Linked DNA regions of Homo sapiens: regions 1, 2 and 4 are each linked to region 3. Evidence: promoter capture Hi-C in 16 types of primary human blood cells and fetal thymus (Javierre and others, 2016). All regions are on one chromosome and are shown on one strand. The core of a region is centred on a gene start or on the middle of the fragment in contact, and the rest is flanking DNA. Distances in the headings are between cores, read along the strand shown.

Region 1 (2,700 bases), core at 91-2,590, 270 kb before region 3:
CTAAATTGCATACTTCTTAGGTCAAATCTGCCTCTGGTTTAAGAGGATTCCAGGTAGAAAGAAGAAAACATAACAGTTCACTTAGGTAATCAGGCTTGAGGATAAATGAGAGGCAGTTTATACGCAACGCCCTCTGCCCTGCTCCGACCCTCATAGGTTGCAATGTTCACAGCGAGGTTGCCCTTCTTCTCCTTGGCCATAGGGGATACACTCTTGGGTCTGCGTAACATTCAGCTTCTGTGTCCTTTGCTTTCAAAGTTCTGCAGGTCAAGGCTCACTGGTGAGTTGTCTTGTGTCTACTGCCCGTGTCCTGCTTAGCCTTTGAGTGTAATTCTTTGTACGCTTGTGTCCCTCGCTAGGTGATCATCTTTAGGAAGAGGGGTTGTATCTTAAGCACCTTTGTTTCTCTCAAAAATTCATTCTTGCCCCTCGCCATCACCAACTTATTGGATTTAATTGATGCCTTATGTCCCACCACACATTTATTCATTCAACAATGTTTTACTGAATGTCTACTACCTTGCCAGACACTTTACATGCTGAGAACACAACAATCGCTAGACAAACGTCCTTCCTCTGTGGAGCTGACATTCAAGACAAGTAGTAAATTACATTGTATATTAGAAGGCGATGAATGCTATGAAGAAGAGAAAACCAGAGGAGGGAAGTAGGCAGTGCAGGGATGGGAGGTCTTCTCTGAAAATATAGAATTTGAGCAAAGACTTGATCTAACATTATGAAAATAGAGCTCTACATAGTTCCATAATTTTATTTTGAAAAGTGACAGATTGGCTGACATTGGTCTCAAAGTCCCTCTGGAAAGCCAATTCCTTTTAATTAGTTTTTTATGCATGAGAGTTGCTTTATGTTGTAGGATAGCAAAGTTAGCTAAGAAACTTGACAGCATCTCTTTGATGTTTGGGAGAGGAATAGTAAAAGGTGAGATGAACCCCATATTTTAAAGACTCAAGTACTTTTCACATATTTTGAATCAGGTGATTGTCAAGTCTGTGGTCTTGGATTCACGTTGAATTAGAACGGCCATTCAAATCAAGAAACGTAAAATCCCAACAATTCCCATGATTTGCCTTTTGACCTATGTCTGAAATGCTTTGCAGGAAAGGACAAGTCTCTGGGTTCAGTGTAGCAGAAGTGGACAGGTGAGTTCATGCTGAAGGAGCACTACTTCTTTTTGTTTGTTTGTTTGTTTTGTTTTGAGACGAAGTCTTGCTCTTGTCCCCCAGGCTGGAGTGCAATGGCGCAATCTCGGCTCACTGCAACTTCCGTCTCCCGGATTCAAGCAATTCTTCTGCCTCAGCCTCCTGAGTAGCTGGTATTATAGGCGCCTGCCACCATGCCTGGCTGATTTTTATATTTTTAGTAGAGACGGGGTTTCACCATGTTGGCCAGGCTTGTCTTGAACTCCTGACCTCAGGTGATCCACTCACCTCAGCCTCCCAAAGTGCTGGGATTACAGGCGTGAGCCACCACGCCCGGCCAAGAGCACTCCTTCTTTTGTGGCCTGGCAGGTGAGCAGGAAACACTTCCGTCCCTGAGCTGTGCATCCACACATCAGACAGAGCACAGTAGTTAAAAGAAAAAGAACCATCAAGTCTTGGTAGGTGGAATGTGATCTCACTTATTATATCACAGCATCAGAGGCTCCTTTTTAGACTGGAAGGACCTCAGACATTATCTAAACCAGACATGCAAATTAGCACAGGCCCAGAGGCCCAAAGCCTGAGAGGTAGCATATGTGGCCATGTAAGAATTTTAATAGAAATTGAAATTATGACTCATAGCAAAAAACTGCCTCTCTCTAACCTCCTCTAGTGTATTGGGCAGGGCTGATAATTATTTTGCAGACAGGCCCAAAAGGCCGAAGACTTCTTAAGCTCAAAGATTTTTCAAAATGATACCAAGAATGATTTTCATCTCTTTGGAAGAGTGATACCTAAAATTTATCAAGCATAGGACTGTTGGTGGTGTTACTAAGGGCTCTTAAAGATCTTCATGGGAAGAAATTCCATAATTTCTCGTGAATCCATTCCAAACAGGGAAATGGCTCATTGCAAAGGAAAGAACTCTGGGCTGGGGGGTCAGAACTCCTTGCTTTGCCTCTCATCTCTGTCAGTTATGAGCTGTGTGGTCTGAGGCAAATGACTTAACCTCTCTGAACCTCTTATTGAACCTCTCTGTAAAAGGTAGATACTTGGCAGGGGCGGGAGAGAGTGGTGTGATTATTCCTAAATTTAAGAGTTTGGAAAAGCAAATAGCACACTGGATCCTCACAGGGATCTTTTGAGAATAAATGACACCATGCATATGAAAATGCTTTCTAGGGCTGGGCGCAGTGGCTCACGCCTGTAATCCCAGCACTTTGGGAGGCAGAGGCAGGCAGATCACGAGGTGAGGAGATCAAGACCATCCTGACTAACATGGTGAAACCATGTCTCTACTAAAAATACAAAAAATTAGTTGGGCGTGGTGGTGGGTGCCTGTAGTCCCAGCTACTCGGGAGGCTGAGGCAGGAGAATGGTGTGAACCCGGGAGGCGGAGCTTGCAGTGAGCGTCACTGAACTCCAGCCTGGGCGAGAGGGCAAGACTCTGTCTCAAAAAAAAAAAAAAAAAATTGCTTTCTATATTCTAACGCATCCTACAGAACTCTAGCTGATACTCTTTTTCAGAGTTTAGTTCATG
Region 2 (2,700 bases), core at 30-2,529, 280 kb after region 3:
CTCATAGAAGGCAATTGTGCAGCCATTATTGGAACCCACATTGGAATGATTTTCATAGCTCATTTAGTCCTGACAAGCCCTGCCTCATCTCCCCTCTACTGTAAAGCTGTCCATGCTTGGCTATTTTCCATCAGGTTTTTAGTTGAACATCTTTTGCAAGTTGAAATATTATTTAGAACATTTCCTTTGATTTTAAACATACCCAGTAAAATTTGACATCTTTAGAAAGTTGAATTTTTAAAAGCCTTCTTAATTTATAGCATCTTGATTTAAAATCAAACCTTGTGAAACAACTTAAAGAGCCCATCAGTTTTACTCAGTAACGTTTGCTGAAATAAGCATAAACAAAATGTTTTCCTCTGAAGTACATGAGGGTTAAAAGTTTGTGGTAAAAGAATTCTCAAATGGAACATTGCTTGGGACCATTTTGATTGTGTTGGTGATGCTACTGGTCTTATCTTGGATGAGAGCTGGTATAAAATTGTTTAACTTTTGCTTTGAACTCTTTTAAAACTCCAAGCATAGGTTTTAAAAGAGAAATAGCTAAAGAAAGACAACTCTAAGCAAATTTGATCTTCATCCACATTTGTACACGTCAGCATTGCTAAGATGATCACATGCGTCTTCAGGAATGATGTTTACAGCCTTTGATCTAGCGTGTAAATGAAAGGGTACATTTGCACACAGCCTCCTTAGGGTCCATGATATGAATGTGTGTTTTACCTACAGACTCAGCTACTCAGAGGTCTGGTTCAGGATACTCACCTCAAAACACAAGACACTAGAGCAATGGGAGGGAGGAGAATGGTAAGGATTGGTGGCACATTATACCCTTCAAAGGATACATTTCCATCAACTCTTCAGGAAAAATACCTGGAAACATATGAGCTTTTAGTGTATGATGATTCCTTAGGTATAGGAGTCTATGTGCACATCTTGTGTGCATGGGATCTCTTTGTTTTAGTTTTGCTCCTTTTATTTGTTTATTTTTAGCCAGCTTGTGCAAATGACAATAGCAGAGAAGTTATCATAGTCTAAGGAATCATATGCAGCTGGGTTTCATTCTCAGAACCTCTACTTACTATACTTACTACCTTTTTTCTTCTTTTTTAACTTGAGTACAGTTACCTTACCTCTCCAAAACTCACTTTCATCTATAAATGTAAATAAAAATAATCTGTCTACTCCACAGGCATGTTAAAAGACTACGTGACAACAGTGTCAATTGACTGGCACATGGTAAGTGCTCAATAAATCAATTCATGGTACTTATTATACTGAGGCCTTTCCATGCTGATAACAAGAAAAATGGCATTTTCAGTTAATTTTTTCTTAAATGTAATGAACTATAATAAAATGTAACTTAATGTGCTGAAATCTGCCCAATCTCTTCTGATACCCATGCATTACAGTACTGAAACACAATTGCCAAGCTACTACAACTGTTTTTGCAACACTGTATTTTATTTTAAAATGATAAACATGCTTGGCCAGCCAAAACACATAATTGTGAGTTACTGGATTTATTTTTTCAGTGTAGGATTTCAGTTTATTGGGAAACTAGAAGTTGTCACATTAAAAGTAAATTGTACACAAACAAATATGCAGTAATATAGTTCTGTGATTTCTTTTTTTTTTTTTGTGAGAGAGGAAGAGGAGAGGGTCTTGCTCTGTTGCACGTGCTGGAGTGCAGTGGCATGTTCACGGCTTACTATAACCTCCACCTTCTGGACTCAAGCCGTCCTCCCAGCCTCCTGAGTAGCCGGGACTACAGGCGTATGCCATCACGCCTGGCTAACTTTTGTAGTTTTTTGTAGGGACGGGGGGTTTCCCCATGTTGCCCAGGCTAACTCCAGGGCTCTAGTGATCCACCTGCATTGGCCTTCCAAAGTGCTGGGATTACCGGCATGAGCCACCACACTCGGCCGGTTTGTGGTATCTTGAACTCCTGAATTAAAGATTCATGAATATAAAGGATCCCAAATCTCTGCTTAGGGATTTTTTTTTTTTTTTTTTTTTTTTTTTTTTTGAGACGGAGTCTCGCTCTGTTGCCCAGGCTGGAGTGCAGTGGCGCTGTCTCAGCTCACTGCAAGCTCCGCCTCCCGGGTTCACACCATTCTCCTGTCTCAGCCTCCCAAGTAGCTGAGACTACAGGCACCCACGACCAAGCCCGGCTAATTTTTTGTATTTTTAGTAGAGACGGGGTTTCACTGTGTTAGCCAGGATGGTCTCGATCTCCTGACCTCATGATCCACCAGCCTCGGCCTTCGAAAGTGCTGGAATTACAGGTGTGAGCCACCGCGCCCGCCCAGGGATCTTTGTAACTGACATTAAAACGTAAATACTGATGTTCACATTAAGGAGCGTTTTGGCATATCATCATTACTAATGTATATTTTGCCCTTTGATTTGAAATCAATGAGTTGGAAAAGCATTTGTGTGTCTCACAGGGTATCTATAACAGCATGGATTAACATTTTGGGGTAAAACAAGTATGGAACAGTTTTTATGAGTTCTTTTTTCCTGTTAACTAATATTCACATCAGTGAAAACTTTGAATTCTCATCAATCTGTTTAAATTTTCTTATTATAATTAAGCACAACACATTTTCCCTTTTTTTAATTGACGTATAATAATTTTACAAGGTACATAGTGATGTTTTCATACATATCATGTATAGTGATCAGATCAGGGTAATT
Region 3 (2,700 bases), core at 69-2,568:
GATGAGACCTCAGAACCCTCTAACCTTGGGCAGCTCCTTACCTCTTCCTGTCTGAGCCATGTTTGATTTGCTGCAAGAGGAATACGTGTCTAAACTGCTGGATTTTAAAATGTCGCTTGGTCTGTGGATTAGGCCAATCCACCCCACATTGTTGGGGCTGCAGATGCAGTTGAATGGTTCATAATTATAGTCTAAAGAAACTGCAGACAGCAATAGAGCCAACCCAGGCCCTTTCTCTCCTGACAGCCCATGCCAAGCTGTCTCCCACAGGGAACCATAGTGTGGTTATCCTGCAATGTATTTGCCCAAAGACAATACATCCAGTGTAGAGAAGTTGGATTTCTAGAAATTGAGTCTGCTCATCTATCTACTCCCATGTCCATTGTATCCTGTCTTGTGTCTCAAGGGTGTCTGGTACTTCTCCTGCCAAAGTGAAATGCAAAGTAAATGCAAGGAGATGCCAGGGAGAGAACTGCTATCAGGGCATCTGGTTCTAGTACTGACACTGACTTTTTTAGATTGTGTGGCCCTGGAAATAATAATTTCCTCACTCACACTCATTTTTCACCTCTGGTAAATAGGAGTGCTGGACTTGGAGAGCACTGATAAACTCCCATTGAGCTCTAACATGTGACAAATCCAAGACCTAAGGTTTTGTCTCCAAAGAGGCACTACAAATGTGATCTTCTTTCAGAATTTAAACTGTCACTTTTCTGTGACTCAAAACAAATATAAATCTAGTTCTCTTCTCCAATCAGGTAGTTCTCGAATTTCTCAAGTGAGGCTGATGCTGGGCAGGTTGCCAGTTTAAGAACTGAGGAAGGGTCTTGAAGAGATTTTTAAATGAAATGTGGTGATAGTTGTTCTATCTCTCGCTGGAGATCGTTCAGGAAAATTGAGCATCCAAGCTATTCTGCAAAGAGATGGCTGTAGACAGACATTTAATGTGATTTCCCACATATTCTACCGTATACTAGATCTTAATAACAATAATCAAATACTAATTCTCACCTAGACACTGTGCTAAATTCTTTGCATACATTATCTCATTTAATCATTCAAATAGCCTTAAAAGGTGTGTGCTGCTATTATCCCTAGTTGAAACATGGAGGAACTGAGGTTCGGGATTGTTTAAATGACTTACCTGTGGCAATTCAGCTGGCTAGTTGGTAGAGTAAGAATTTGAACCTGAGTCTTATTCCAAAGCCCACACTACTATCCTCTTTGTTTTCTTATATTGAGCTTTCCAGGGCAAACAGGCTCCCAAGTCCTCCCCTCTCCCCCAACCCCACCCCACCCTCCCTTCTTCCCTCCTGACTGCAGCTCCTCCTACCCTCATTGTTTATTGTGCCTTCTAAACAATAGCCAATGAGTCTGTGTTCCATTCTAGGGAGAGCTAGGGCTGATTTTATTCCCTGAAACAGAGATGAGGTTGTGACACAAAAAGGTTAAGTGGCTTTGGTGAGGTCACAGAGCCAGCCTGCAGTCAGCAACAGTACCATCTGAGTCCCCTGGCTTGGGTCCCTTAACTGACCCTAAGGCTTTTTGGCATCCAAGTTTAATTAAGAGAGTTATTTTAATTTTCCTTCCTATCTCTAATTTTCCATTTTATTGCTGCTTGATAATGTAGATATTGAAGTGCCAGGCATTTTTCTTCCCTAGTGTGACTTTTAATGACTAAACTTCTCACATAGAAACCACTTGCCTTAGAAGTAAGCTTTCAAAGCTTGTTTCTGTGTATGACAGAGACTGTTGCCTTTTCTCAGAGAAAAATGAGACCACAAATGCAGCTCAGACAGGTTGTTGTTAATTGAGGGCTTTTTTTTTTTTTTTTTTTTTTCTAAATCTTACATTTATACCAGTAAATCAACATCTGTGAGTCATAAACTGGTTCTGGATCAGCCGTTAGTGGTCTGAATGTTTTTGTACCTACCTTCAGTAAAGCATATTTTAGCTCAAAACTCAGAGATTCTTTGTTTTGTTGAAGTTCAAGACTCAGGAGTAGATAACATGCTAGGACACTTCTGGAGAGGGAAAGTCTGTCTTCCATGATTGTTCAACATTAAGTGTATATTTATATTTCTTTTTTATTGAAGTTGGGGTGGAGTTGAGGGAGGAGTATAAATAAAAAAGAAAGTATGCTTTTTACATACTCCATGTGCTTGAGGAATTCCTGTATGAAGGTGACTATTTTCTTAATATTATTGTCTAGCTCCACTCTTCTGTTCCCCAACTCCTGCGGACTTTTCTTGGCCCTTATTGACTTCACGTTCCTAGTGTAAGGCAATTCAGCACTTGGTAGGATATAATTAGCCGAAGTCTAAGGAATGCTTAAAAATACAATTCTGTTTTTTCCCAAATGCAGGAGGAACAGACTGCTGCAGTACAAGCACAAGCACAGAAGTATTTATTTGATTGATTTTTTTTTTTCCTGAGTGCCTTAAAAACCAGATATGGTATTGAAGTATCTTGCCCAAGTGGATGAAAGGCAACGCTTGGCTGCTGTTGTTTGGCTGGTGGGGACACTGAGGCATACATGTAACCGAGTGGACGTGAGTGCTGGGGATAGAGGTTCTGCTCTACTATGAAGGGAAAAGGGCACAGCCTCTGACACTTTTTAGTTCATCTTCACAAGCCAGAGCATATCAAACTCACTTAATCATTGAATTAGGAAGCCCATAGTGACCAAAAAGTTGATAG
Region 4 (2,700 bases), core at 72-2,571, 260 kb after region 3:
TTGTTGCATACCTCCTTAGCAACCATTCCTTACTTTCCCATTACCAGAGCTTCCAGTCACTGTTTAGAAATCCATTTGGTTCTGGGTAATTCAACCATACCTCCAGATCCACAGACGCACCCTATGACCTGGGATAAGCCAAGCAATACAATCTATTCCCTGCACACAGAGTAGGTAACAAGGTAGAGATGTAATTTAAGTTGTTTAAAGAAAGTGAATCTCTGGATATTTGCTGGTAATGATTGGCAAAGGCTCACTTTTATGCAGAGCTGAGCAACAAAAAAATGCAGCTCCAGCACCTATTGGCAGTCATTATAAGACCTCCAGAAAAGCCAGTCTTAGGATAAAGCCAATAATGCTGAAGGCAGAAAAAAGTCAGGTCCTCATTAAGTGCTGAATCAAGCTATACTTTAAGCCAGTATTATCTTTGGAAATATACTTACATGAATAATAAATTAGTTTTGTGTATAAGCCACCGTTAGTTGGCTTTTCCAACATGTGCAACCAAAAGAAGAATAACAGTTTCAGAATTTTGTGCCAGGAGTGGGGCATTATAATTAACAGAGAAGTGTGAAATGGATCTAGTCAAAGAGGTAGGATTGAAAGCAATAGGAAACCTTGTATCCTAGTCTGGAAAGTATACAATTCTTGTTATACAGAATCAAAGCAACTAGTTAAACTGTGAACTATTGTTTCTTGGCATTTAAACTTTGCTGTCCAAGGCTGTAGTATTGGTTATTTAGTAAAAAGTAAAACTGTATTGGAGAGTGCTGGCTACATTTTGCAGAATTGTGGGCTTCTGGGATATCTGAATGCATAAAAGAAAGAAAATATGACTTTCTAAAAGAGGCTCTTTCTGCCTGTCAACTACAATATAAATTTATTAAGAGTATAGTAATTTGAAGACCTGCAGGCTAGATGAATGTAAATTCTATGCCCCAAAGGCAGAAAAATAAACCCAAGGTGGAAATAATATTGAGATTTCTGAGTCTTCAGGTCTCCCCCAAATGCCTCTTATTTGCTTTATCTCATGAGGAAGACAGTTCCACCCATGTGAAGGTAGAGCAAAGATGCATTTTGGGGGCAAGGCAAATATAGTCAGTGCCTTGGCCACTGAGGCCATTGTCGAGAGATAGAAGTATCCAGGTTTGTCTTGAAACTCAGAATGATGAATTTGGAATGTATGTGGCTTTAGCTGCTGGATTACGGATCCATACAGAAACTACTTTATTTGAAGGGAGTTGTGAGATGGCTTATCATGGAACTATATAACAGCAATAGCTAACTAATACACTTTTATTTTCATTTTTCTCATCTTCTGTTCAAAAACTTATGTTCCAAGTATGAGAAACTACAAATCTGTTCATTGACTTTCTCTTGACTGTAACTATGGAGGCTCATGGGAAGGTCCTTTTAGAGGAAACCCTATTGTTCTTTTTTCCCCACTAAAGTTATCTAAGAGAAGGAGAAGTATTATTAACGTGTAACTCTAGAAACATATTTAGAAATTCCATAAAATCACTCTTGATTATTTTATTTAAAACATGCAAGAAGTATTTTTGTTCACCCACTTGACTGTAAGCTCCTTAAAGCAAGGATGTGCTTTGCGTGTGACCTTCTTTCCACATTCCTATTCCTGTTATATCAATTTCAACACTATAAAATCAACTGCAATCTTCTCATAATAATGCTAAGTTATATAATTGAATAAACACAGCTGGACAAGTGACTGAGAATTGACGATTAGAAGGGATAAAGGAGTTAACTTCTGTTGAGCACCTGCTATGCTAGATACACAGCACATTTAAACACCAATCCTGAAAGGTATTATCTTTCTGATTTTACAGAGGAAAAAATTGAGCCTCAGAGAAATCAAGTATGTTTCATATTCAATGGCAGACTTATGTTTTTAATGCAAATTCATTCAGCTTCAATGCCAAAAAATGTGCATTTTGCTATAGGTATAAATACATTGGGGTTGGGATGATCTATGAGTCTCTGCCTTGATACTGCCTCTGAGATTAAACATCCTTATACATGTTGATGCTTCAATCGCTATTTTTTTCTGTTTTTTTTTTTTTCCAAACTTGTATAGCAATTATAACAAGAAGGCAATTACTTTTCACCCTGGGGAATAGATATTGGCACTAATCATGCAAATTAATTCTAAAGGTCAGATGAGAGTGTAAATGTGGGTCAGTACAAGCTGTAAAGCAAACATTTTGGCACTGGAAGGGGCAAATAAATTAGTGTTAGAGAATAGAGTCTAAAAAGAAATCTGAAAGTACATGAGAAATTAATATGTGATAAATATGTCTCAAAATCACTGGGAAATATATTAAATAATGTTGGAGATATTGGAAATAAACTTAGAAGAATATATCCTTAGGTTTTGATATTAAATGCTATACATAAAGGAAATTCTGGTTGGTTTATAATTTAAATTAAAAAATCTATAAACATAAAATATATACAATACATTTTTAATCTTGGATAGAAGGCAAAGGGGAAGACAATCTTCCTGCATATATGACATTCTTATATCTATTTTCCTATTATTCATCTGTCTATCCATCTATCTACCTGCCTACACATGCACACATTAGCATTTGTATGTGTGTTGCATCTATATTCATATTCAAAATTGGATTATTGGTGGCTTATTTTGTGTGTGTATTTGTACCTTTTTTAGATAAAGTT

What was found. Contacts are between HindIII fragments. The CHiCAGO score rates a contact against its expected background, and 5 or more counts as called.
Region 1: a contact is called between a fragment that was not itself captured here and the fragment with the promoter of ETS1-AS1 in region 3, in 8 of 17 cell types (neutrophils, total CD8 T cells, total B cells and 5 more). The highest score is 10.8, in neutrophils.
Region 2: a contact is called between a fragment that was not itself captured here and the fragment with the promoter of ETS1-AS1 in region 3, in 2 of 17 cell types (naive B cells and total B cells). The highest score is 5.8, in naive B cells.
Region 4: a contact is called between a fragment that was not itself captured here and the fragment with the promoter of ETS1-AS1 in region 3, in 11 of 17 cell types (total CD4 T cells, activated CD4 T cells, total B cells and 8 more). The highest score is 18.1, in total CD4 T cells.

The regions. Positions count from the first base shown.
Region 1 is chr11:128,795,492-128,798,191 of GRCh38, reverse strand. All of the region lies in intron 5 of FLI1 (Fli-1 proto-oncogene, ETS transcription factor), which reads right to left. Among named protein-coding and RNA genes, the nearest start is that of KCNJ1, 70 kb to the left of the region's middle. The HindIII fragment of the contact is 4,733 bases long and covers 1-2,700 here.
Region 2 is chr11:128,241,440-128,244,139 of GRCh38, reverse strand. LINC02098 (long intergenic non-protein coding RNA 2098) reads right to left here. Exons shown (of 4, transcript NR_146647.1): 4 at 2,699-2,700. Among named protein-coding and RNA genes, the nearest start is that of LINC02098, 34 kb to the right of the region's middle. The HindIII fragment of the contact is 9,586 bases long and covers 1-2,700 here.
Region 3 is chr11:128,524,760-128,527,459 of GRCh38, reverse strand. It overlaps ETS1-AS1 (ETS1 antisense RNA 1), which reads right to left and starts at 1,318. Exons shown (of 4, transcript NR_120581.1): 1 at 1,145-1,318; 2 at 42-927. The region is part of intron 3 of ETS1 (ETS proto-oncogene 1, transcription factor); the gene reads left to right. The HindIII fragment of the contact is 5,425 bases long and covers 1-1,719 here.
Region 4 is chr11:128,263,798-128,266,497 of GRCh38, reverse strand. No RefSeq gene overlaps it. Among named protein-coding and RNA genes, the nearest start is that of LINC02098, 56 kb to the right of the region's middle. The HindIII fragment of the contact is 4,564 bases long and covers 1-2,700 here.